2 separate regions of the Homo sapiens genome follow, and region 2 is linked to region 1. The links are contacts of gene promoters, found by promoter capture Hi-C in human tissues and cell types (Jung and others, 2019). All regions are on one chromosome and are shown on one strand. The core of a region is centred on a gene start or on the middle of the fragment in contact, and the rest is flanking DNA. Distances in the headings are between cores, read along the strand shown.

Evidence for each region. The method cuts DNA at HindIII sites, captures the fragments that hold promoters and counts their contacts. A contact is called where the count stands out against the background at its distance.
Region 2: a contact is called between a fragment that was not itself captured here and the fragment with the promoter of TMEM184B in region 1, in 2 of the 25 tissues and cell types used here (dorsolateral prefrontal cortex and stomach).

The regions. Positions count from the first base shown.
Region 1 is chr22:38,271,733-38,274,432 of GRCh38, reverse strand. It overlaps TMEM184B (transmembrane protein 184B), which reads left to right and starts at 1,423. Exons shown (of 9, transcript NM_012264.5): 1 at 1,423-1,549. RefSeq lists a silencer at 1,271-1,900 and an enhancer at 1,963-2,672. The HindIII fragment of the contact is 18,337 bases long and covers 1-2,700 here.
Region 2 is chr22:38,389,990-38,392,689 of GRCh38, reverse strand. The region is part of intron 1 of TPTEP2-CSNK1E (TPTEP2-CSNK1E readthrough); the gene reads left to right. It also overlaps the pseudogene TPTEP2. Among named protein-coding and RNA genes, the nearest start is that of TPTEP2-CSNK1E, 7.6 kb to the left of the region's middle. The HindIII fragment of the contact is 3,040 bases long and covers 1-2,700 here.

The sequences.
Region 1 (2,700 bases), core at 174-2,673:
ACAAAGTGCTGGGATTACAGGCGTGAGCCACCGTGCCCGGCAGATTTTAAAAGAATCTTGGCTGGGCGTGGTGGCTCACGCCTGTAATCCCAGCACTTTGGGAGGCCGAGGCAGGCGGATCACAAGGTCAGGAGATCAAGACCATCCTGGCTAACGCGGTGAAACCCCGTCTCTACTAAAAATACAAAAAATTAGCTGGGCATGGTGGCGGGCGCCTGTAGTCCCAGCTACTCGGGAGGCTGAGGCAGGAGAATGGCGTGAACCCGGGAGGCGGAGCTTGCAGTGAGCCGAGATCGCGCCACTGCACTCCAGCCTGGGCAACTTTGAGACAAAGAGCGAGACTTTGTCTCAAAAAGAAAAAAGAGAAAAAAAAAAAAGGATCTCCCTCACCCCTGAATTGATAGAATGGATCAGAGGGCAAGGCTGGAACAAGGGAGAGGGGTTAGCAGAACTCTGCAATAATCCTGTGCAAATACTGGACCAGGGTGGTAGCACTGGAGGAGGAGTGGCAGACATCTGAGTCTAGATCTATTTTGCAGGTAGAGCCAACAGGATCTCCTGCCTGCCTTATTGGGTAGCGGGCAGAAGGGGGGCATTCATTCACAGCTGACTCCGAGTTCTGGCCTGGGGACTGGAAGGATGGAATTGTCAACAGCTGATGGAGGCAAAGCTGAGAGGGAGCAGGTTTTTGTGTGTGGAAGTGGGGTTGGCTCAGCTCAGACACGCTGACTTTGAGATGCCTGCTGGAGCTCCAAGGAAGAGGTGTTGGGTAGACAGTTCAGGCGAGGAGTCTGGAGACATAAATACATTTGGGGATCTTGAGCACATCAATGCCAGAACTTAATTGCATTTTATCTTGTTCAGTTAACCTAGGTGATGTCTGGACCGGCAAACAGAAATGGACTAGGCGGCTTGAACCCTATCTGAAGACTTTTGCTAGTTCGGCAGCCTAGAGCCAGACGGGGCAAGAAAGAATCGCTGCTAAGCGGAGTGGGAAAAAAAGGCCTCTTTCAGTGCTTTGCCATTTCATCTGGCCTAATTGCACACAACACTCGGTCCACGTTCATTCCACAATTCCACACGCATCCTTCACTCAACAAATAGCCATTGTATTTCGTTTCATCTTCAAAACAGGCTCAAATGGAGGAAATTAGGGTTAAAAGAAGTGAAGCACCAGCGAGGGTCAGGGGCAGAGATCGCAGCCCAGAAAGCTCTCGCGGTTGGGGGCCGGTCGTAGCTGGTTTTGTGAGTGGCAAGAGAACCCGGGTCGCGCCCCAACCCGCGGGGCGGCGGGCTGGGGTTCGGGGCGGCGGGCTGGGGTTCGGGGCGCGGCCCCTTTAAGGCCCAGGCAGTGATCTCAGCCGCGTCCGCCGCCCCGCCCTCCCCGGCGGCGAGCCCAGAGCGCATGCGCGCCGCGGCTGCACTCCACTGGGCCCGGGACGCGCCGGCGGCGGCGGAGACTCCGGGGCTGCGGCGCCGCCCGCCCCGCCCGCAGAGTCCGGCTGCCGCGCATCGTCCGCAGACGCCGCCACCGCCATGGGCTCCTGAGGTATCCCGCCTGGCCGGCCTCGCCCGGGAGCCCCAAGGGGGAGCTGCGACTCCCGAGCGCGGGGGGCTGCTTGTTTCGGAGAGGCCCGCGCGAGGGACGCCCGGCTTCGGCCGCCGGCTCCCGGGCGGGGAGGGCACTACGGAGGCCGGTGCGGCCGCGGAGGGAGGGGGCATCCGTCTCCCCACCCGTGCCTCCTCTCCGCCCCGCGAGGTCGCCCGTGGGTGTGCCCGCTCCCTTTCCACGCCAACGTGGCGGGGGCAGCTCCTGGAGTGTAATCGGACCTGTCCGGGGGGCGGCCCCGGGAGAGGGAGGCGGATGGACCAAGGCGCTTTGCAAGAGGGATTGTGTGCTCCCGGGTGGGTGTGCTGGCGACTGGCACGGCCGAGTGAGTGGGGGAGGCGTCCGTGCCCTGTGCGGGTGGCAGTGACCTGGGAGGGTGGTCGGCGGGGGGCTTTCGGGGCTGCGTCGTGAGTGGAGGGTGTACACGCCCGCCACACAGGTCCGCAGGTTTGGAAGGGGATCGACTGGGACCTGGGGCTCGAAAGATGTTTGCCCCCAAAGGGACCGTGGAGACTGGTTTTGGGTGTCTGTATCCTTCCCGTGAATTGTACATTTCCTCCTGGGCACACCCTTGGTACCTCGCTTGGATCCACTTACCTCCAGTGCTGGGTGGCTCCAGGCCAAGGCAAGGCAGTTATGCTGGGGGTTGGGCATGGATTCCCAATACATATCCCCTCTGGAGGTGTTGTATAAGGCCAGACGTTTTACTCCTCCCTCCTTTCCAGGGCATTTTGGGGCAAAGCAGGTATTTGCATGCCTGATACCTGTGGTGAGGTGAAGGCCATGTATTATTTATCTGACTGCTGGTGCTTTTGTAAGGAAAGAAGCAGCAATCTGTGCCCTGGAGGCCCTGCGCTGCAGAGTCAGCCAGGCAAACAAGCTCACCTGCACCTGCAGAGGCAGCGCAGGTCTCAGAGGTGTGACTTCGTTGACAGGTTATGCCTACAGTGTCCCTTTCCATCTACCTATTTAGCTTCCTTGGTAGAACCCCTAGGCTCTGCACCTCTGAACCTTGCCTAGGGTGCTGTGCGTATCAGAGTTGGGACCTGGGACGCTGGGGTGGGAGAGCCCCAGCAGCCAGGTATGTGTGC
Region 2 (2,700 bases), core at 186-2,685, 120 kb before region 1:
TGACAGTATCTGTTAATATTGAAACTAAAACTAGTATGTTATACTTTAAGTTCTTACTAAGATCCCTTAACTGACCTTAACTGATTTAGGATGAATTCAGGCAGTTTCTAGTTAATGACACTCAAATATGCTATATGATTATATTTTTATAGTACTTTGGTCTCTAATCCTATTTAAAATTGGTAATTTATGAACAATTTCAGCAAAATGAAATTATTTCCTTTACAAGCTTCCCAAGTTGAAGAGTTTAGGTTGTAACCTTAAATATAAACTTTGAATATTCCAATCTTTTTCTTTCGCTTAACTTGGAAGCATCTTTCCACAGCTAAATTAGGAAAGTTGGGTTGACCATTTAGCCTCGTGGGTGTGACCCCTAGTAATTTCCTTGAAACAGTGTTGAAGAATTTAGAGCATTAAAAATAAAAAATAAAAAAACCTGTAGCTTTTTGATTGTTAGTAGATGGCTATGCAGAGTTTTCTCCACTTGTCAGATTAAGAAAAAATACTGTGTGTAAAAGACAGAGGAAAAACTTTCAGAGAAAATGTAAACTTCTAGCCAGGTCTTGGAGATAATTTTGTAGTTTTCAGGGTACAAATGCATTGGCCAGAGAATAGCAATTTAAGTTGAATTTTTTAATAACTCCTTATTTGGACACCTCAGTAACTTGGGAAAAAGTAGCTTTGTTAGCAGTATGACAAATTGTGTATAAATATAATTTTTCTGTGTTTTTGAGGACTTGAATACCTTATTGCTTTGTATTATGGTAGATACATATTCCATATCAACAGTGTAAGATAACCTATTAAGCAGAAGAAACAAAGAGGCTGTGCTGTTTCTAAAAGTTAACAGTTTGAGTACATCAGGATGTAAAGAAAAATATTCCCAAGTTACAGTAATTGTCAGCAAAGTGGCTGTTGTACCTAGTTAGTTGTACTTAAGCACAGATTACTGTGCTTTTTATTAAGCAGTGTATAATGTGTCCTATTTGCTAATTTCAAGATCTATAGGTAGTGGTAGAATTCATGGTAGCTTTAGTCACAAATCAGTGTGTAATTAGTGACCTAAAGAACATCACACTTCTATTCCAGCCTTTTGTAGCAGTGTGGTTCCCACTGGGTTTCAAAGATTATGCTCTGGTAAATTTTAAAAGTATCTACTGAAATAATCCCAATAGAAGTTTCTTTCAAAATATGGCTATACTCAATAGCCCACTTGCCTTAGGTGTTAGGGGGTATATGAGTTAAGTTCTGTCGTTTACCTGAGTAAAGATTTTAAAATGTTTTTAAACATTGGAAACCATTTTTGTGAAGTACTTGTCAGTAAGCTTAGCGTGTTCGTAATGCTCACTTTCTTGCAAGCTAGAAGCATTTAGATTATAGTCTTGGATTATAATATCCTCCTTTTCCCCTCCAGTTCTTTGTTGAGAAAGACAATTTACTTTAACAGCAGTGCCATCGGTTTACTGCTGCCTTCTGTGTGCAGGAGTGTGGAGAGCTGGAGGCTTCTGGGAAGGCTTGTGTTTGTGCACACACACCATTCAATTGGAATGGTGATTTGCTGTTAGTAGATTAGAATTTCTATTTTGCTGTATTCTGTTATTAACATCTTTATTGTTACAACCACTTTAACGATTACTGATGAGCGAATTGGTTTTAAGCGATGTAAACCTGGTTTAAAGTATTATTCATTGTCTTAGAGTTTAAGGAAAGTGTTTTGTCTAGTATGTTAGCAGTTTCTAAGTCAAGAGCTGAAGGCATTTGCTGTCAGAGATAGCCCTAGGATGCCCAGCATTTTTGTTTTGGAGGGTCGTAAGGAGAGTGAGTATAAATCCAAATAGTGCAGTTTTTGTTTTGCTTGTGCTGATGAACTTTATGGTGTGATTAAATATGATTTTTTTATTACGCTCTTGAAATTGTACTCTTGAAGTTGCAGAATGGCAATTAGATGGCAGTCACTGATAGCCATGTAGAAGTTTTGATGAACATGCAACTTAATTTTAATTTCTGATCAGTTACGTTTAGTGACTGTGGCCAAACATGTGCGTACTGATTCTACACGTGTGCTAATTCCGTGACGTTTATTCACCAGCTATGTGTCGCGTGCCTACTCCTGTGTCAGGCACCTTGTTCCAGGCATTGGGGGCAGCAGTGGACAAGGCAACAGAGTCTCCATCCTGAGGTGTTACTTTTAGAAAAAGACAGTTACAAGCAAACAAACAGGATGGTTTTAGATCTGGACAGAGGTTTTCAGAGGAAGTCATCCTTGAGCTGTCACAATGCTTTGGGGTTAGGGTGTGCTGGGTAGTCAGGGATGGCACATTTGGGGTGCCTAAGGATTGCTGTGGCCCTGGGAGCCTAGGACAGTTGATCACAATTGACTATTAGAGTCAGTCTCAGAAGCTTTCCTGGAGAAAGAATTGCTGCTGTTTTGCCAGGAGGGTTTCCTTCCCCATCTGACCACACAAGAAGACCCCTTGGCCTAGAATGCCTGCCCTCATCTCCAGGTCTCCCAGGCTGTTCACCCTCCCAGGCAAAGTGGAAACTTCCTCTGTCCTAAGATCGTTTCCCACTGAACCTCCTTCATTGTCCTTCACTGCAGAGAAATAATCCTACAAGGTCTTGTGTGGAGACTGATGGTAACTTCTTTAACCCAGATAATTGAGAATTGGAACCAAAACATCTGTCTGTTAATAAATATTT